Linked DNA regions of Homo sapiens: region 2 is linked to region 1. The links are contacts of gene promoters, found by promoter capture Hi-C in blood cells and fetal thymus (Javierre and others, 2016). All regions are on one chromosome and are shown on one strand. The core of a region is centred on a gene start or on the middle of the fragment in contact, and the rest is flanking DNA. Distances in the headings are between cores, read along the strand shown. Region 1 holds the start of XRN2 (5'-3' exoribonuclease 2). Region 2 holds the start of LINC01727 (long intergenic non-protein coding RNA 1727).

What was found. The method cuts DNA at HindIII sites, captures the fragments that hold promoters and counts their contacts. A CHiCAGO score of 5 or more calls a contact.
Region 2: a contact is called between a fragment that was not itself captured here and the fragment with the promoter of XRN2 in region 1, in 1 of 17 cell types (naive CD4 T cells). The highest score is 5.4, in naive CD4 T cells.

The regions. Positions count from the first base shown.
Region 1 is chr20:21,298,025-21,304,580 of GRCh38, reverse strand. XRN2 (5'-3' exoribonuclease 2) reads right to left here and starts at 1,250. Exons shown (of 30, transcript NM_012255.5): 1 at 1,108-1,250. The coding sequence starts at 1,182. RefSeq lists an enhancer at 653-702 and a silencer at 1,423-1,552. The HindIII fragment of the contact is 6,284 bases long and covers 1-6,131 here.
Region 2 is chr20:21,569,947-21,576,078 of GRCh38, reverse strand. It overlaps LINC01727 (long intergenic non-protein coding RNA 1727), which reads right to left and starts at 6,055. Exons shown (of 4, transcript NR_109880.1): 1 at 5,831-6,055. RefSeq lists an enhancer at 1,327-1,827. The HindIII fragment of the contact is 2,923 bases long and covers 1-2,778 here.

The sequences.
Region 1 (6,556 bases), core at 1-2,500:
GTTAAAGGTGGAGAAATGGGATGAGAAGGGGTAGAGCAAGAACTGTTGCTTTTTGTTTAACCCACGTGCAAGTAAAGTTCAATAAAGTTCGATTAAAATTTTACAAAGGAAACAAGTATTCAATTTAGCAGTTGCTTTTTGAAAAAAACAAGAAATAGTGGGAATGTCACTAAGACAAGGCTTTTGGTTCCTCCTTGGATAGAAGCCAAGAAAGTTAAAAAAAAAAAAAAAAGCAGAAATAAGTTCACAGTGACAGGCAAGCACTGCCTTCAAAAACTAAGGAGTGAGGTACGCGTGATGTGCCTCTGAACGTTTCCAATCCAGAAATTCTAATTAAGAGCACAAAATCGAATCCGCATGGAATGACGAAAACAATAAAAACAAAACTCAATAATGGCCAAAAATCTACTTACGTATTAACTAACAACAAAAATTGTACTGCTCAAGTACATCCAGTAATCTTGAAATTTTCAACAAGCACCCACCCCGTTCAGTAGTCAGGGCACACAGAGAAGGGTAACTTCTCAGAATTCTATAGCGCTCATCCTGGACCTGACATACTGCTTTCAGCGTCCAATCTAACCAGAACAACAAATGGTCCTGAACACTAGGAGAAAACCTTTCCGGCACAATTGGTAAACAACGAAAAGGTCGCCGCCAGGGATTCCTTTACAAGGTTGTCAAAAAGCTGGCCTCCGAATCCGTGCATCCATAACCCGCTAGCTCAGCTGACCTGGCATGCATTGCTCAACAACAGCCTCTGAACCTCTTCCGAGACCCAAAATGCGCGGTCTGGAGAGGAAACAAAGCAGTGGGCGGGGCCTTCCGGTGCCGGGAAAAAGCGAGTAGGGGAGGAGCGACCCTCCTGCGAGTTCGGAACCCTATAGGCCCTTGCCCCGCCGAGGGTCCTGAATTCCTCGCCCCCGGGGTGCTGAATCCCACAGCCCGCGTCCCATCGCGTGTGGGGCTGCGACTGCTCGCGAGGCTGGCAGCAGGGCGCGAGCTCCGGCAAGGCTCCCCGGGGGCAGGCGGCGGAGCCCATGGGCCGCGGCCTAGACGTGCCGGGGGCCCGGGCTCGAGTGTGGCGGCCGCCTGGCGCCTCCTCACCTTCTCTTCCACGCAGTTGACTATGATGGACGGGTACTTGCGGCTGAGCCAGCGGAAGAACGCCGGGACTCCCATAGCGGCACACGGCTGGAGGCGGCGGCCGACCGGCTGACGAGCGTAACCAAAGAGACGGGAGCAGCGGCAGAGGGCACCAGCACTTCCTCCCACGTGCGCGCTGGAGAACGGAAGTGACGTCACGGCGCCGCCGCCGGGGAAGCTGGGAAGGAGGCTTCGCTGGATGAGGGAGCGGCGGAAAAGGGCCTTGCCGGGCTGTTTGTGGGAGGCGGAGTCCGGCGGCGGACCGGGTGGCGAAGGCTGCAGCTCGCCCTCGGTGGTCCCAGCCCCGGAGCGCGAGGCCGAGCGCGTCTGAGTTGCGGGGGCTCACGGGCGACTGCTCTGCCGGGGCTCCGCCGGGATCTCCCAGCCCCAGCCCTCCGGCTCCCTGGGCACAGAATCGCTGCGCTCTGCATGCCCGGGAGGAGGTCTCCCTTGCCCGTTTGGTCACCTCTTGTTTGGAAGAAAATGTCTTTTTTTGCCTCTATGCTCACCCGTCTCAATCTAGGGTAGAATCGAAGCATCCAAACTTACTCGTTACTTCCATTTCCTGGTTTCTCCTAGTTTTGTGCTGCAGTACGTACCTGGACTATCAAAAGGAGCATTTTAAAGCATTTTACAGTAATAATGGCTGCTTTGCACCAATAATTTGATTGTTATGCAAATAAATAATTATGATAGTTACCGAATGGAATCTAGCCGGTATTTAGCATCCAATACAATCTTCCAGCTACAATTACGGGTATAAAATAGTTGCTAATATGATTTTCCAGCATTTACTGAGCCTTTACAGTGTACCAAGACATTGACTAAGGGATTGTCCTATGTAATCTTCACTTGAACCTTGTGAGGGTACTGTTAGCACCCTCGTGTAAATGATAAGAAAGCCAAGTTACAGAGGAGTTAAGTCACTTATGCACATAGCTTCTGTTTCAGTTCAAGCAAAGGTCATTTTTAATCCATCCTTGTTCTAACACGATACTTTTATCTTTTGTTTTCTGGTGGTCCCAAACGAATTTTTTCCATATGAAAGGAGAGGTCTGGAAGAGGAGGTATATTTGTCCGTTTGCTCAAGCCTGGAAGTCTCCCTGAATCCCCTCTTGGTTTGACACACATCACACACGATGCTAAATGCTCACCTCATGAGGCCTCTGTGAAAGTATTTCGCCGAGTTACCTCACAGGCAGTATTTATTGCCCCCTCCTCTGTGGTCTGATGACTACTTTGTTTAAACTACTAGTGTGGAAATTAGAGAAATAGTCATCCCGTGTTTTACTTAAGGATAGCCAAAACTATTCCAAAGTATTATGTCTATGGTGAAATTCCTCCTTTTACCTGGAAGCAGCCCCTCTGGTTTCCCTGGGAGGTGCTGTTATAGGAACATGTACACCATAGGCAGTTCAGGGATAGACAGCTGGCCAAGTTGAGCCATTTAGAATCCTTAACCAGCATTTTGGCGGGTTGGGAGGGTTTATTGTTTTGTTTTTGTTTTTTCAGACGGAGTCTCAGTCATCCAGGCTGGAGTGCAGTGGCAAGATCCAGGCTCACTGCAACCTCCACCTCCCGGGTTCAAGCGATTCTCCTGCCTCAGCCTCCCGAGTAGCTGGGATTAGAGGCGCCTGCCATGACACCCCGCTGATTTTTGTGTTTTTAGTTGAGACAGGGTTTCACCATGTTGGCCAGGCTGGTCTCGAACTCCTAACCTCAGGTGATCTGCCCACCTCGGCCTTCCAGAGTGCTGGGATTACAGGTGTGAGCCACTGCACCCAGCCTTACCAGCATTTTTGAGCTTTGAACCATAAGAAATTTAAGACTGCATCTTTCCAGTGCGTGAACGCTAAAAGATAAGAATTGGGACTTGTTGCCAGTAGGCAATGAGAGAAGCAGGGTTAATTCCCTGGTTCCAGTTAAATCCCTCTCTTCCTGCAGTTTGATTAAGTCTGTCCTTTGATTCTGTGAGCCAAATTTTTTTTTTTTTTTTTTTTTAAGACAGAGTCTCACTCTGTTGCCAGGCTGGAGTGCAGTGGCACCATCTCGGTTCACTGCAACCTCCACCTCCCAGGTTCAAGCGATTCTCCTGCCTCAGCCTCCCAAGTAGCCGGGACTACCAATGTGCGCCACCACGCCCGGCTAATTTTTGTATTTTTAGTAGAGATGGGGTTTTACCATGTTGGCCAGGATGGTCTCAATCTCTTGACCTTGTGATCCGCCCGCCTTGGCCTCCCAAAGTGCTGGGATTCCAGGTGTGAGCCACCACTCCCAGCCAAAAGTTTCCTTTTGCCCTAAGCTGGCTTGGGCTAAATTCTTATCCCTTACAAAGGAAAGAGTCCAGTAACAAAATTTGGGGAGTGCAAGCTAATTCACCTGGGTGGTGAAATTGGTTTGCATAGAAGTACTAAAATTGGAGTTTTGGCACTCAGAGAAGGAGTGGGTAAAAGAGAGAAGAAACTTGAAAGGCGGCAGGAGGATATGGACTAAGTATTGTGACACTTTCCCTGGCCCAATGTGTCCAGTAAAGCCTGTCAGACTCAGGCTTGGTATGGGTTTTTCTTGTAGAAATCAAATAAAAAGTCTCCAGTTGGGGTCACTGTGGTTTGGAACCACCACGGGGTGGGCAACATAGCAGACCTCTAGAAGCAGAAGAGGTGAGAATTTATTAGTGTTGGAAATTAGCAGGGAGGCCAGGTGTGGTGGTTCACATCTGTAATCCTAGCAAATGGGGAGACTAAGACAGGAGGATCACTTGAGCCCAAGAGTTTAAGGCTGCAGTGAGCTATGATTGCACCACTGTGCTACAGCCTGGGTGACAGAGCGAGAAGCTATCTAAAAAAAAAAAAAAAAAAAAAAAGAAAATAAATTAGCAGAAATACTGAACCAGACTTTGGACTTATACAGGCAGAGAACCCAGAGGTTTTGAAACATTTTTGCCCAGATCTCAAAGGGAGAGAGGAAGGCCACAGCTAGTATCTGGATTACATTAATGTGAAAAACAATATGAAAAATATATAATATGTGGAAACTAGGATGTTTTTAAATATTCATCAATTCATTTTTAAGCCCCATTAACATTGTAATTATCATAGAAAAAAATTCTCAGTTTTTTTTTGCCTACTATTGGTCCTTCTACCAAGTGATTCCTTTCCTTCTTTATCCTTACAAAATTCATTGTGAATAACCTGATGTATTTAAAACAGTAATTGTGGCCATTTTGGGTTGAGATAAACATTTTTAATCAGTAGAGTAAAGCAGATTGCCCTCCATAATGTGAGTGGACCTCATTTCATCAGTTGAAGGCCTGAATAGAACAAAAAGTCTGGCCCCCAAGCAAGAGGGAATTCTCTAGCCAACTGCCTTGAGATGTAATCTGCCTCCTGAGTCCTGAATCTGCTGGCCTACACTGCAGATTTGGATTAGCCAGTCTGTATAGTTACGTGAGCCAAATCCTTATAATAAATGTCTTTGTATATGCCCACATGTTGATTCCATGTCTCTAGAGAACGCTGACAGCTACAGATTCTGGTACTAGAAGTGGTTCAAGCGGAACGGAATCTTAGGGATGCATTTTTGTAATTGGTTCTGAGGTTTCTGGAAGTGGTTCTCTAGTCTGATTAGATTAAAAACAGGAATGACTTTCCAGTAGTAAATAAAACACTTGATAGTCTATGGCATGATGAAGTAGTAGAATTACACAAAATATTACCAAAACTAAAAAGAAGCAGGATCTGGGTGACCATGCGTATGATACTTTATAACATATTTGCCAAAATAACAAGTATAATGAGATTGGTTGCCCCTAATGTTGCTGGACAAAGTGGGAAAAGAAAAGGATGAGCTCAGGGATTCAAATTCCCAGCTCAAGTATAACATAAGTGACCTGAAACTTTCTATTTCTGCCCTGAAAGAGACCCTTATCTCCTATAGCTGCAGAGCCAAGATTGTTAAAAATCAACTCCGAATCACATCCTGTAAGTGGCTGAATTAAAGTGCAGATTGAATTTTTGACTTTGCAGGTTGTCTACTTCTAAAGTGAGGGCATTGATTGGGAACGAATTGGATCCTGAAAGTTGGAATGGGGGCATATGGAAAGACCTTGATGGCACTGGGGACATTGAATTCATAAGTTCCAATGAGTCATCTTTGCCCGTAGAAGCATTTTCTCCACCCCAGTAGATATATCCTCTCCACCCCCACCTGAGGGAACTAACCTTTCATTGCTTAAGGAATCTATCATGACCTCACCTGATACAGTTGTCTCGCAAGACAATGCTGATTCTCCTCAGGACACACCCCCATTACCCCTCTTGGCTTCTAGAACTTTAACTAGACTCAAGTCCTAGCAGTCCCAAAAGGTGAGGCATGAAATGTGATCCATGAGGCATACTACACTCCAAAAGAACTACTTGAGTTTTCTTATTTAGTCAGAAATTCAGGGAATATGTGTGAGAATGGAAATTAAAGGTGTGGGATAAAGATGGAAGAAACATAAAATTGAATCAGGCTGAATATATTGATAGGGGCCGATTGAGCAAGATTTCTGCATTTAATGTTGCAACTCAGGGAGTTAGTGCTATAACTGATGGGTTGGTTGACTGAAACATGGACCAAAAGGTAGACCACAGTGAGTGAGTGAGAAATGCCAGGCCTACTTGGGTTTAATGTAGAGAAGAGAAAGCTCAGGGCTGGTTTACAGGTGGTTCTGCATGATGTGCAGGCACCACCTGAAAGTGGACACTGCAGCACTACAGCCCCTGAGACTGACCTTCCCTGAGCAAGAATGGATTCTGCCAGCAGATGCACCTCTTCCCTGGGTCTCCAGCCTGCTGGCCTACCCCATCAGATTTTGGACTCATCAAGCCCCCACAATCGTGTGAGCCAATTTCTTCAAATAAAACCTTCTCACATCCTATTGGTCCTGTTTTTCAGGAGAATTCTGACTAATGCATTTTCAAGATGCTTCACCTCTCTAAGCTTCAGTTTCTTCATCTGTAAAATGAGGATCATAGACTTCATAGGTTTTCTGTGAAAATTCAGTGATACCATGCCCAGTGCACAGGCCAAAACTTGCTAAGAACCAGGAAGTGATCACCATTGTATGGCTATCTGTTGTGCTCCACACTGTTTGCTTTGAAGAAGCCTCACAATTTTATTAGCATGTTCCACTTATTTTGGACAATTTAATAATCTAACAGGCCTCATTTTGCCACTCCCCAGCTAGTATTAACTTTCTTTTCTTCCTTCTTTCCTTCCTTCCTTCCTTCCTCTCTCTCTCTTTCTCTTTCTCTCTCTGTTTCTTTCTTTATTTCCTTCTTTCTTTCTTTTTCTTTCTCTCGTGCGTTCATTCTTTTTTCTTTTTCAGACAGGATCTTTCTCTGTAACCCAGGTGGAAGTGTAGTGG
Region 2 (6,132 bases), core at 68-2,567, 270 kb before region 1:
AGCAGGGGCCTGAGCCCCACCGCCTGAGGCCAAGTTTCCATCCTTCTATGGACTTCTCTTCTCCCGTTTTTCTCATCATTAAAAGAGAGAGTGACCATGCCTATTTAAGAGGAAGGTTATAGAGATTAAGTGACATTATTCAACCTGTCTCAAGGGGCCACTGGGGAAAGTTTTCTATCTGTAATAATGGTGTTTCAGTAACCTCACAAGCTAAGAAAACCATCAATGTGGACAGATGAATCCTGAATTCATAAACAGCACCTTCCAGGTAGCAGGAAGGCAGGTGAAAGCTAGCTTCCCTCCAGGAACTCTTTGCTCATCCCACCTCTTTAATTAAATTCTTGGGCCAAGTGTAGTGGCTCAGGCCTATAACCCTAACACTTTGGGATACCAAGGCAGGAGGATCTCCTGAGGCTAAGAGTTTGGGACCAGCCTGGGCAACATAGTGAAGCCCCTGTCTTTACAAAATATTTTTTAAATTAACTAGGCAACTTAGGAGGCTGAGGCAGGAGGATTGCTTGAGCCCAGGCATTCGAGGCTGCAGTAAGCTATGATGGCACCACTGCACTCCAGCCTGGAAAATGCCTGAGCTATCTAGGTTATTAACCACCAACCAAAGGCTGAAATCCAATAGGTCTTTAGTTCTCTTTCTTTATTTCCCTCCAAAATGTGATGCAGCTTTTTCCCTGGGGCGCTGGAAGAAGCTAGGGCAGACAGATAACAGCAGTTGAAGGTGGAGATGCTGAAAAGCATGCTTGGCGTGGATGGAAATTTGGCCTCAGGCAGTGGGAATCAGGGAAGACCATTAACTCTTTACCACTTAGTGTCCCTGTGGTAACTTTTACATATTAAATTGCAGTGAATATGAAATAGCAAGATACAAATATTGATAAGATTGTACTTTCTTCATAAAACTTAAAATAACATTAAATCACTCCAAAAATTGTCAAGAACAGCTTTGGGCAGATTGCATTTTCTCTTTCTTCTTCTGTTAATTTTGCATGTTAATTTTCTTCTTAACTGTTTAACATGTGCTGCTATTTGATGATACAATTTTCAAGAGCAATGAGAGGCTGGGAAATGTTTCCTGGTGTGGCCACCACCTAGGAAGACAGTTGGTGCCACAAGAGCTTGTGTAGGGGAAGTTCATGGGCCCGAGGGTTGACCTGCTGGAGCGGGCAGCCGTGCACCCATGCCGGACTCAAGGAGGGCATCACACATGGAGGGGGCAACACAGGCCAGGATGTAAAGCTGGAAAAGTGCAGGGCATGTCCGGGGGCGTCCAGCTCAAGTGGCTGTTTGAGAATTGCTTGTGCTATCGGACGGAGAGGTCACGCACATTGGACGCGAGAGGATCGTGGGTCACAGTCTGGGAACCAGAGCACCAGAGCCCAAGGAGGGAGGACCACAACACCCAGGCCCCTTACCACGCTTATTCCAGCAAGGTAAAGTCCCTCTGGAATGGCTCATGCACCCGGCTTGTGGACAGGAGTGGGATGGCGTGGCTGAGACGGAGATAGGAGGGAAGCAAGGGGAATGGGAAGACAGCTGCCTTGGAGGCCACTCCCAAAGGAAGGAGAGCAGGATGAGAAAACCCCAAATCCACGTAATGCCCTAAAGTGCACTGGGGTCAGCTAAGGCGATGCAGATTGAGGAAGAGGCTCCGAGTCAGTAAGACCAGCACCTAAAATTCCTCTAAAGAAAGGCACTAAAACTCCAGGGCCCCTCATCAGTGTTTGAAAAGATATTTGGCTGCACTTATACTTTAACATGTCCCATAACGTGCCCTGAGATACCATTTTTCACTTATCCAGTTGGCAAATAACATAACGCTCAGTGACTCCGGTGCTGGTAGAGGTGAAGCAGAACACACAAGGGTACAAACTGGCAAGGCTTCCACAGACGGCAACTTGCAGTTCTTTTTAAAAAACCCTCTGAGACAGGAATTCCACTACCAGGACTGTATCCTACATGTGTCCCCACACATGCACATAATGACAGTTGTACAAGGCTACTCATTGTGGCACTGTTGTCATAGCAAAGATTGGAACCAACCAAGATGTCCTTCAGGTGCGGACTGCTTAAATAAATAACACCTCATCCACATAATGGAATGCCAGGCAGAGAGAATGAAGAAATCTGTTTCTTCCTAATGACATAATCTCCCATTATTTAATGAAGAAAAGGGGCAGGCTATGTATGTCAGGTACAATTATTGGTGGTTTTTGAAGGGAAAATGAGAAAGAGAAAGAAACTTTTTTTTTTCTTTTTGCTTATGCATGTACTATCTGTGGAAGGATACAGAAGACGCTGATTACTTTAGTTGGCTCTGCTGGGGAGAACGGAGCGGCTGGAAGACAGAAGAATAAGGAAGATGAGATCTAACACCTTTCTGTTGTTGTCGAATTTTGAACCAGATAGAAGTTTTATCTATTTTCTAAATAAATACAAAAACAAAAACCCCAGGCCCTGAATACAGCTTTAGGTGAAAACGGTGTTCCCAATTCCCACTCCTCACCCATACCCAGCCTCCTATCTCCCTCTCAGCCACGCCATCCCACACTTCCCACTCCTCATCCATATCCAGCCTCCTATCTCCCTCTCAGCCACGCCATCCCACACTTCCCACTCCTCATCCATACCCAGCCTCCTATCTCCCTCTCAGCCACGCCATCCCACTCCTGTCCAGCCTTTTCCTTCCATTCCAATTTTATAAAACTTCCCTTCACCTCACTCCTTTGGCGGGATGATTTTTAACACTTCACAGTTTTACAAGCTTTTGCATTTCAGATTTGAGTCTCTGACTTAAATGAAAAGCTGGAAGTGTTTCTTATAGAAAAACTCACATATATGTACAAAGTATTCTTGCAATGGAAGAAAAATGAAAGGCATCTAAATGTCCATCTGTAGGGGAGAAAAATCAAACAAATCAGATTATTTCCACACTGCACAACAGCATGCAGCGGTAAAACAGTCAGATCACTTTGTGTTTAAAAACCTCAGGCCGGGTGTGTGGCTCACACCTGTAATTCAAGCACTTTGGGAGGCCAAGACAGGAGGATTGCTTGAACCCAGTAGTTCAAGACTAGCCTGAGCATCGCAGGGAGATCCTGTCTCTACAAAAAATTAGCCAGGCATGGCAACTTGCACCTGTAGTCCTAGCTACTTCGGAGGCTCAGGTGGGGGGATCCCTTGAGCCCAGGAGTTCGGGGCTGCAGTGAACTGTGCCATTGCACTCCAGCCTGGGCAACAGAGCAAGACCCTGTCTCAAAAATAAATAAATAAAAATAAAAATAAACCTTATACAATATATTTTCAGACTTTATATAGTACATAAAAATATATTATCAATATAAGCATAAACTTTATATAAACATATTGTATAAAGCATAGAATTAAATGTATTATATTTTTATATATTTATATAAAGTTTTAAAATATTTTTACATTTGTAAATATAAAATATATACACATATATGCCATACAAAATATATTTTATGCTTATTTATAAGTCATACACTTCATATGTGCACATGTAATGTATATTTCTACATGTCTACATCTCTGTGTAACATATAGAAACGAATATATAATATACATATATATCATTTGTAAATGCATAGGAAAGGAATGTAAATGTTCTCTAGGGGTGTAGTAAGATCGGGATGATAAAAGGAAATGCAGGAAAGCTTGAGATTGTTACTGTATGAACCTGCATGGGCTTGTGTGATGTTTTTAAACAATAAAAATTATTAACCATCTTTTGGTGCCTGGCATGACAAGTATCTGCCACTAGAGGGCACTGGAGATCGCTAAATATTTCCCAGGATTATCTTTGAGGGAGGGGGCGCGGGTGCAGGGGATTTGAAGGAAGCCCCTTTACCTCTTTATAAGGGTCCCTTTTTCACGCTGGGGGACTGGGCCCTGAACCTGAACTTTCAGTGAGGGTAAAGCTTGGCTGGAAGCCCGCAACCCTTCTCTCTCCACTCCCTCAAATAGGCCCCTGCAGCCATTTGGGGTGGGAGTCCTTTATCCAGCCCACCCCATTTTGCCCACCAGTTTCGCCCACCAGCCCTGGTCTGCGGGACGCTGCTCCGGTGTGGAAGGTGGAACTGGCATCGAGTGCATTTCAGTGAGCTCACCTTCACTCCTTATTCCACATGGGTGTTCAACGGGGAGCCCTGAGACATTGGAAGGGGCCGTTTGTGATTGCTCAATTATAGTGGAGACATCTTCGCATTTGGGGGAGGAAGAGGGAAGCTAGAATTTCTGAAATGCTCAAAATTCAGCCTGAAATGCATGTCGGTGAACAACCAGTTGCTAATTACCTACCCTAGGCCCTAACTCTCTGACACGTAATCATAGAGCATTATCGCCTGGTTTAGTATGAGCGGAATATGCAGGAACCCAGAGTCAGTCAACGTGTGTTGTTGTGCCTAGAAATTTACTGAGCGTTTTTCACCAGTATGGAAAACCACGGCACCATGACGCCAAGCCGGTAGTGTCTGAGTCACTGGTCCTGTGCTCCAGGCTTGGCCTGGCTCTGGGGTTGTCGGGATCACATTCTTACAAGACAAACACCTGGATACTTTATTACGTCTTCTAGAGAGCTTGTGCCCAAGCATTTACCTATCGAATATGTGTGTGTGTGTGTGTGTGTGTGTGTGTGTGTGTGTTTACCAAAAGTTACCTTTTTCAACTTCTCTTTTGTTTCTCCTTTATATTACAGAAAGAACTTTTTGTAATGATGCATGTAAGTAGATTATACAATCTGTGAATTTCATTTCAAGATAGGACAGGAAGCGTTACAAAATATTCGTGGTCTCCAAAGTGATTCTGACACCTCATGATGACTAAGACCTTTGGTTGCCGTTGCCTCAAATAATTTCCTCCTAGAGCAGCAGTTCTTCACCTCGGCTACACATTGAACTATGTGGGAAGCTATTAAAAATACAGATGCCTGAACCCCACAGCCTTCATTATCTTGTGAGCATCTGGGCCAAGTTCAGTGCTGGTGCTCTTGTTCAGATGGATGTAGCTGGTGGTGCAGAGATCCATGAGCTTGCTTTTATGGGACTTTCTGCTGTTGTTGATCTGGGATGCAGTCAGGATACTAGGGCTTTTTTAAAGCTCCCCAGTTGACTCTAATGCAGCCAAATTTGAGAACCATTCTCTGCTCAATACCTTCAAAAATGGAAAACTAACAACCTCTCACTCAGTGCCACCCCAGGTATGACGTGCAGAACAGCAGCATCAGCATACCTGGGAGCTTGTTAGAAATTCAGAGTTTAGGATCTATCTCAGACCAGCTAAATCCAGATCTTGGGAAGTGGGGCCCAGGTACTTGTATTCCACTCCACGCCTCCACAACATTGGCTTACTTTTAATTTAGCTTTAAATTACAATTTTAAAATGGAATTAACCAGAAGGCAAGGGTATACGGGAAATTTTTTTTAACACTTCTCATGTAAACTCAAGTCTTTTATTCCTTTTTCAGGGGTAAAGCAGGCTTTTCCATTTACAAGGTTATTCATGAGTTGCAAAAATTCCCTCCCTTCCTCCATGCTTTTGTAATTCCTACATTCCGCCATTTAGTCTTGGTGGCCACAATCAAACAGAAATCATGAGGGCCCTTTCCTCTTGCATCCGTAGTGGCAACCTTTGCAGCAGACAGTAACTGCTCCAGATCTGTCAAATAAACGCAAGTATCTGTATTTCTAAATCACCTCTCAGTAATACTTTTGCATACTGGAGTTTTCACTTTGGCATGCCCTAATCCTTACACAAGCACGAATTCCTCTAAATCCCAGCCTGAATTTGTTTAACTTACCAGAGAAGGCTTGCCCATTGAAGATTGGTTCTTCAGCCACTGCTTTTCATTCTCATACCAAACAAGTGCATTTTTAAGAACTCGCGAGAGTCTTGCTACTCTTCAACAGAGAAAGTCATCTCCAAATTAATCCACAGTCAGGAGCACCTCGTGCTGCTTTTATATATCATTAAAGTCCTGTAAAAGCAAGCTCACGGATCTCTGCACCACCAGCTAAATCTATCTGAACGAGAGCACCAGCCCTGAACTTGGCCCAGATGCTCACAAGATGATGAAGGGCACCCCTCCTCCAGCCTGTTCTT